Linked DNA regions of Homo sapiens: region 1 is linked to region 2. Evidence: promoter capture Hi-C in 16 types of primary human blood cells and fetal thymus (Javierre and others, 2016). All regions are on one chromosome and are shown on one strand. Each heading gives the region's core, a stretch centred on a gene start or on the middle of the fragment in contact. The rest is flanking DNA. Distances are from core to core; before and after follow the strand shown. Region 1 overlaps ZNF274 (zinc finger protein 274). Region 2 holds the start of ZNF551 (zinc finger protein 551).

Region 1 (4,194 bases), core at 1,655-4,154, 520 kb before region 2:
GCGCAGAAAAACGGTCGCAGAGCAGAAAATTACTAGTGTGCAATAGCTGCAGCTACGTTAAAAATAAAAAAGCTCGGGCGGAAGCATCTTTCAGAGCCCGGAAGCCGCCTGCACAGACCCCTCCTCGGCCCTGGTCTCTCACGCACCCGCCGAGTCCGTCATCGCGCACTCAGGAATGCGAGGCCACAACCATAAGCTAACCCTTTCGCCCAGAATAGCACCGTCCACACAAGACCCAGTCTCTCAGCCGACGAAATGGGTCGACGCCTACAACGCCTCTAGGCCACGCCTCGAACCCTGCCCCCCCTGGACCCGGAAAAGCGCCCAGAACTACGACACCCGCGGGGCCTACAGCTCCCAGCAGCCTCCGAGACACGGGCTTCCGGTACCGTTCTCCCTAGTCCCCGCTGACAGGGACACGTCCTGGGCCTACATGGGGCAACGGGGCAGTGCGGCAGGAGTTTCCACGCCTGCCCCACCTGAAGGTATTTCTCCGGACCTCGCGGGCTGGGGTAGACGTTCCGCTGAGGCCACAGCAGACGGCTCCCAACCCCTCCCCTCTCCCGTTCCTCGAGTACAAACCCTGGTCTGTCTGGGCTTCCCGTTTGCGCGCTGCACAGGTTTGGCTGGAGGTGCCCACCGCTGGCACGGGCCCAGGGAGTCAGCTCCGCGCTGGGATCTGCCCAGAGCCAGTGCCCGCGCTGCCTTCTCGCAGCCCAGGCCGTCCTTCCAGCGAGGTGGCGCAATTGTAGATCACGACCTGAGCCACGCTTTAAATTTTCGACCATTACCAGTCTACGCTTGAAGTGATTTTTCTTCTTGATAAGATTAATCAGACACACTTGTGCACCTAATTCCAACCTCTTCCCCCAAATAAGCTTTTGAGGTATTTTCATTTTGGGGGCTTGGCCTCTCCAACTCATTTATAAGTGCTCTGATCTGTATTTAATTCCCTTTCTGTTTCTTAGGACTTCTGGGGACTTACTTCGCCCCAAGTAACTTTTCTTAATTTGAAAGCATACTTCATTTATTTTCTTTCAATTACAGCGTTTTTTTCTTTTTTTTTTTTTTTTTGAGACGGAGTTTCGCTCTTAGTCGCCCACGCTAGAGTGCAGTGGAGGGATCTCGGCTCACTGCAACCTCCGCCTCCCGGGTTCAAGCAATTCTCCTGCCTCAGCCGCAGCTGGGATTACAGGCGCCCACCGCCAGGCCCAGCTAATTTTTGTATTTTTAGTAGAGACAGGGTTTCGCCATCTTGGCCAGGCTGGTCTCGAACTCCTCACCTCAGGTGATCCGTCCATCTCGGCCTCCCAAAGTGCTGGGATTACAGGTGTGAGCCACCGTGCCCAGCCCAATTACAGCTCTTAAGGCTTGAATTTTTCCTGAGAAGCAGCTGGGGATAAGATTTACTGGAGGCCCAGCAGCACCGGACTAAGTGCCTAGGACATGGGACATGCACCAACTGAATCTGTACTTCCTGGGGGGGGGCTAAGTGGCAGACCAGCACTGGGCCACCAGTACTATTTTAGGTAACCATGCATGACACTTAAACATCTTAAACGTTACTTCATAAATTTCTAAAATTTCATTTTTGTATTCCTTAATCGAGGGATTTTCATGCCTTGGCCCCTAGGAAAACAACTGTTGGATTCTTCTACTCCACCCCACCCCTTTCTAATGTACTTACTTCTGCTTTAATCTTTATTATTAACCCATGAGGCCCCACACTCTGTTCTGTACACAGTTATCATAAAGCACCTTTTGCATGCTGTGGAACCAAGGACACCACAGTGAACAGAGAGACCACAAACCCAGAAACTGGTGAGGAAGTGATGGACTCATTCTGTGCACCTCAGTCCTCCAAATGTCAACCCATAGACTATCCCAAGACCTTTAGGGCAATCCTTACCACTGTCTATTGCAGGAAATTAGCTGCTCCACTTCATGGAGGAGAAAATGGAAGCTCTTAAGTTCACCACCAGGCAGAGGTGGAACTGGATTCTCATTCCACCCATCTCATTCCACAGACATGACTGACCCAACCCACTCATGTGGAGCTGCATAATCCCTATCAGCTGGAGCTCCAAATGGCTTTCAGTCCAGCAACTGAATGAGCCCGTAGCAATGTAGTCACCTCACCTACAACTGTCTGTCTAATGGGTTGTGAAACAAATTCACTGAGGCTCAAAGCAAGGGGTTTAATCAAGAGAGATTAACTTCTTGAGCCTGAGTTTCTTCACCCAAAGTGATGAGATACCAAAGTCCAGGCACAGCATGTGGTAAGGGCTTGATGGGAGCTGCTGCTTTCTCCCTCTTGACACTATTTTCTTCTCTCAGGATACTTCTACCTCTCTGCTGCTTCCCTTCCAGGGTGACAAACAGGCCTTAGGCAGCTGTCTTCCTCACAGTGCTGTTTGCCAGTGAATGCTGATTAGCCAGGTATACCAGTCCAAAATATAACGAAAAGCAATGATCTTTTTAGCAGCTTGTGGGGGAAAAGTCAGAAGAGTACTTACCCTCAGCTCCCCTAATCCCTGGGCACAGTACCCCATCACTTTTCCTCCTTGTCTGGAAAGCTCTCAGCTCTCCTGTTCTCTCTCATCATTCCCTCAGTGCCCCTAAGCTCCCTGTTGGATTACCTTCTGCATCTGTCTCCTCCAGTGTACCACTGAGGCTGCCAACTGGGACTTGTGGATCTCACACCCCTAAGTAGAGGATCTGCCAAAGGCTGCTGATCATCTTTACGTTACTCAGTTTTTGAATCAATGACAGTACCATCATTTCACGAAGGCTGCCCACAGTCCCAGGAAGCAAATGTACACCATACACAAAAGAAATATGCCTGGTGCGGTGACTCATGCCTGTAATCCCAGCACTTTGGGAGGCCGAGGTGGGCAGATCACAAGGTCAGGAGTTTGAGACCAGCCTGGCCAATATGGTGAAACCCCGTCTCTACTAAAAACACAAAAGTTAGCTAGGCGAGGTGGCGGGCACCTGTAGTCCCAGCTACCTGGGAGGCTGAGGCAGGAGAATCACTTGAACCCAGGAGGTGGAGGTTACAGTGAGCTAAGATCACACCACTGCACTCCAGCCTGGGCGACAGTGCAAGACTCCATCTCAGAAAGAAAAAAAAAAAAAAGAAATTCATGCTGGGATAGGCTAGGAACCCTGCCCAGGGTTGCAGAGTGGATGATCCGGTTTGGTTCTGTGTCCCTACCAAATCTCAGGTTGAAAAGTGATGCTGTGTTGGAGGTGGGGCCTGGTGAACCTTCAAGAATGGCTTAGCACCATCCTCCTGGTGGTTAAGTTAATCACACGAGATCTGGTTGTTTAAAAAAGTGTGGCCGGGCAGAATGGCTCACGCCTGTAATCCCAGCACCTTGGGAGGCTGAGGTAGGTGGTTCGCTTGAGCCCAGGAGTTCTAGACCGGCCTGGGCAACATGGCAAAACCCCATCTCCACAAAAAAAAAAAAAAAAAAAAATTAGCCAGGCGTAGCGGCATGTGCCTGTAGTCCTGGCTACTCAGGAAGCTGAGGTGGGAGAATCGCTTGAACTCAGGAAGTCGAGGCTGCAGTGGGTCATGATCGCACCACTGTACTACCGCCTAGGTGAGAGTGAGACCGTGTCTCCAAAAAAAAAAACAAAACAAACAAACAACAGTATGCGGCACCTTCTTCCTCTCTCTGGCTGCTGCTTTTCCCATGATGTGCCTGCTCCCTGCCTTCCACCATGAGTAAAAAGCTCCCTGAGGCCTCCCCAGAAGCCAACCAGATGCCAGTGCCACCCTTGTACAGCCTGCAGAACTGTGAGCCAATTAAATCTCTTATCTTCATAAATAACCCAGTCTCAGGTATTTACAGCAATTTAAGAACGGCCTAACATAGTGGGCAACAAAGGAGCCGGGTTCCAAACCCTGTTATTTCATGTCCTTGACGCTAAAGGGGTCTCCCACAGCCACCATCTTAGTTTTCCTAGAATATGGCCTTTCATCCAGAGATCCACATGTGCACCACCCTCCTGCCTGGTATAGTCTTCCCCAACATCTTCGCCTGGTTCACCTTCCCCAACATCTTCACCTGGTTCGCCTTTCCCATTCAGGTCTGAGCTCAAACGTCACCTCCTCAGAACCATCTTCCTACTTAGTTCTGAACTACTGCTGCCCACCCGTACCTCGCTTGTCCCCCACCAATGTAT
Region 2 (4,018 bases), core at 1,059-3,558:
CCCAACTGGTTACTCAGCATATGGGGCCCAGAGAGTGGCTGGCAAATTCAAATACGGTTCAGTACTATCCCAGATCTCTAACTGCACCTAAAGTTAGGGGCAGCCTCAAGTCATACCATGAAGGCCTTTCTACCTGACTATTCCTTGCTTCAACCTCACCCATCAAGAATCACCTGTGGATCTCAGATAACCAAGGCCTCTTCCACTTCTGGGCTGTGATTGCTGTCCCCCAACCAGTCACAGCCTTCCTCTCTCCAACTACCACTAATTCAAGGTCCAACCCCAGTGGCTCTCTACCCCGGGCCCATCGAGTCCCACAGATGGCCAATTATGCCCCTAAGATAACGTGACAGCCTGACTGAAACTTCCCAGATCCCACCAAGAGTTAATATAAAACCCTGGTCAGTCTGCAGAGAGGTGAATACGCACCAGTCCTAGCATCATCCTGTCTAACTCCTATGCCTCTACATTCATCTCATGTCTACTCACCCCTGAGAAGCCTTGGCCACATGCTAGATCATAATCTCTGTACGACCCTCACCGTGAACACTTCTGTCCAAGACCTGTGTTGCAACACCTCACACAACCAGGGGCTCACACAGGAGACCTGTCCTTGACCTTCCCCTCCCCTTCCTTGACAACTATTATTATCATTGTGAGCAGGCTTCCCCTCTACTAAATGTGATCCACAGCTCCACCCCGGCCCACAGATTGTCCACTACCTTTTGGAAAAGTCTCCATTCTGAATCTCTCCTCACTGTTCCTGACCTACAGTTCCAGCAGCCCATGAACCATTCTCTGAAAGCTCTCATACTCTTAGCAGGTCAAAAATAAAACTTCTGATATCCCAAATGAAAACTACTCCTACTATGTACTTCCCCATCTTAGTTGATGGAGCTTCCACACTTCTAACTGCCAAAATAAAACCTTTCAGTCATCCCTGACTCCACTCTCTTTCTCAAAACTAAAAATTCAGGCAGCCCTACTTAAAAAATGAATCCAGAATCCAACTGCTTCTCGCATCTTCACAGCCACCATTTTGGCCTATCACATTCTATCACATTCACCTGGCCTATCCCAGTAGTCTCCTCCCAGGTCTCCCCACCTCATCCTTCAGTTGGCTTCCCATGCTGCAGCCACAGGGAGCCTAATAAGACCAGAACCAGATCACCTCCCTCTTCCACTCCAAACCTCCCACTGTTACTATTAAGTAACGAATAGACAACTCAACTTCTCAGGGAACCATTCCGGGTCTGACTTCTACTACACTGCTCCCTGTTCTCATGAAAAGAAAATAATTGTAGGTTCCTGAACTATCTTAGCCTCCTCTCCAAACTTAGCATATACTGGTAACTTTGCCTTGGACAACCTTCTACATCTCCTTTCCCCCGGCTGCCAACAGCTTCATATAATCTAACCTGGACTTAAGACTCTGGGCTTTGTATTTGCTCAAAGTCTCAGGGCCCAAGGCTAGACGAGTGGCGAGGCTCAGGTCGCCCAATGACCCTGGTCCAGTTTTGGAGCCAGGTGGCCTGGGCTGGCTGCACTATCTCCGCACCTCAGTTCTCAGTGCTGACTTTACCAGCTGCGTGAGCTTGGACAAGAACTCAGTCTTCCTATGCCTAACTACTATTACCTCTCTTCAGCCTGTTCTTCCCCTGAGCAACTTTTGGATAGCTTTAGGAAATCCTAGCCCAGTGTCCCTATCTGTTCACAAATCTCGAAGGCTGCCAGTGTCCTCAGAATCGTCAAATTCGTCAGGTGCAACTCTGCCTCACTCTATGTTCCTGCAGACCCGAGACGGACCCCAGGCTCCTGAATCCCCCCCAGCTTAGTCGCAGCTCCAAGTTCTGCACGCGCCAGTCAACTGCCCGTCACATTTCCGTACACACTGGGCGTCACAAACGGGTCCAATCCACAAGCGCCTTCTTGTCCAGGGTACTGGGGCCTGGGCTGCAGGGCTGTGAGCAGGCATCCCTCACTGGGCCTTAAGGCTTCTGCTGGGGGAGGTAGGCGAGACCCGGAGGACGCACAACTCACCTGAGCCGAGTCCCTCAGCGCGACTGCCGCCATTGAGCTCCGTGGACTAGGCGGGGAGCGGCGGCCGACCGGGGCGGGCATTCGAACACAACAGTCCCTATCCCGGGCCTGGCGCAGCTCACCCGAGGTGGTGTCGCAGAACCTCTGGCCCACTTTCGCGACTTCTCTGTCCCGTCCCTCAGTCGCGACCTCCACTGCAGAAACTGGCGGGCTGGACAAACAGGACAGAGGCCAAAATGACCGCCACGAGGAGGACGCCGGAAGTTCCGGCCCGTCGCGCTGCGCGTGCGCGGAAGTGTTGCTATCCTGGGCTGTCATTGGCTCAACTCCGCCGCCGTTTTGCGCTCTGCACTCTGGATAATGTAGTTTCCAAAACTCCACGGAGCTCTTCGGAGTGTGTCCACTGCTTTGACCTCTGCGAACTTGTATTCTGAGGTGCTGTGCCCCGTGCAGGGAAATGGCGACTTCGGCCTCTAGGGGAGAAGGAGGTATTTACTCCTTCTTAAAGGGGCTTTTCCCAGATTTCTGGGAAGTGTTTTCCGTAACTGATCACTTAAGTGTTTAGAGACATTATTTCAGACTCCACGAAGCTCAGGGTGCCCCTAGAGGCAAACAAATATTATTTCAGGGGGTTGGGCGCGGTGGCTCACGCCTGTAATCCCAGCACTTTAGAAGGCCGAGGCGGGCGGATCACCTGAGGTCAGAAGTTCGAGACCAGGCTGGCCAACATGGCGGAACCCCATCTCTACTAAAAATACAAAAATTAGTCGGGCGGGCCGGGCGCAGTGGTTCACGCCTGTAATCCCAGCACTTTGGGAGGCCAAGGTGGGTGGATCACGCGATCAGGAGTTCGAGACCAGCCTGGCCAACATGGTGAAACCCTGTCTCTACTAAAAATACAAAAATTAGCCGGGCATGGTGGCGAGCGCCTGTAATCCCAGTACTTGGGAGGCTGAGGCAGGAGAATCGTTTGAACCTGGGAGGCAGAGGTTGCAGTGAGTCGAGATCACGCCATTGCACTCCAGCCTGGGCGACAGGGGGAGACTCCGTCTCCAAAAAAAAAAAAAGAAAAAAAAAATTTGGATTTTGGAGCATTTTGGATTTTAGATTTTTGGCTCAGGGATATTCAACCTGTATTTTGTTCTCATTAAATAGGTTCCTCTTTCACTTTGTTATTGTTTGATATACTAAAGTTTTAATTTTCATGAAGTCTAATTGGTCTATTTTTCTTTTGTCACATGTGTATTTGGTGTCAAATCCAAGAAATTATGGCCAAATTCAATGTCATAAAACTTTCACCCTATATTTTCTTTTAAGTGTTTTATAGTTTTGGGTCTTATGTTTAGGTTTTTAGTCCATTTTGAGTTCATTTGTGTTTTTGGTGTTAGGTAAGGGTTCACCTTCATTCCTTAGCATGTGAATATTTCATTTTCCCAGCATCATTTGCTGAAAAGATCATCGTTTCCCCATTGAGTGGTCTTGGTAGCCTTGTTGAGATCATTTGACCATATACATTACTATTGCAAATGATATTGTTTTCTTAATTTCCTTTTCAGATTTTTCATTGTTAGTGTATGGAAGGGCATATGAGTTTTACATGTTGACTTTTGCATGTTGACTTTGAATTCAGCTACACAGGTGAATTTGTTTATCAGTTCTTTTTTTTTTTTTTTTTCCCAGACGGAGTCTCACTCTGTTGCCCAGGCTAGAGTGCAATGGCTTGATCTTGGCTCACCACAAGTTCCACCTCCCAGGTTCAAGCAATTCTTCTGCCTCAGCCTCCCAAGTGGCTGGCACTACAGGCGCCAGCACCATGCCCGGCTAATTTCTGTATTTTCAGTAGAGCGAGGGTTTTACCATGTTGGCCAGGCTGGTCTTGAACTCCTGACCTCAGGTGAGCCACTGCGCCTGGGCTTTTTTGTTTTTGTTCTTGAGACAGTGTCTTGCTCTGTCTCCCAGGGTGGAGTGCAGTGGCGCG

What was found. Contacts are between HindIII fragments. The CHiCAGO score rates a contact against its expected background, and 5 or more counts as called.
Region 1: a contact is called between a fragment that was not itself captured here and the fragment with the promoter of ZNF551 in region 2, in 1 of 17 cell types (total CD8 T cells). The highest score is 5.0, in total CD8 T cells.

The regions. Positions count from the first base shown.
Region 1 is chr19:58,200,460-58,204,653 of GRCh38, reverse strand. The region is part of intron 4 of ZNF274 (zinc finger protein 274); the gene reads right to left. Among named protein-coding and RNA genes, the nearest start is that of ZNF274, 19 kb to the right of the region's middle. The HindIII fragment of the contact is 4,047 bases long and covers 881-4,194 here.
Region 2 is chr19:57,680,267-57,684,284 of GRCh38, reverse strand. It overlaps ZNF551 (zinc finger protein 551), which reads right to left and starts at 2,308. Exons shown (of 3, transcript NM_138347.5): 1 at 2,041-2,308. The coding sequence starts at 2,121. RefSeq lists a silencer at 1,868-1,937 and an enhancer at 1,993-2,616. The HindIII fragment of the contact is 7,295 bases long and covers 1-4,018 here.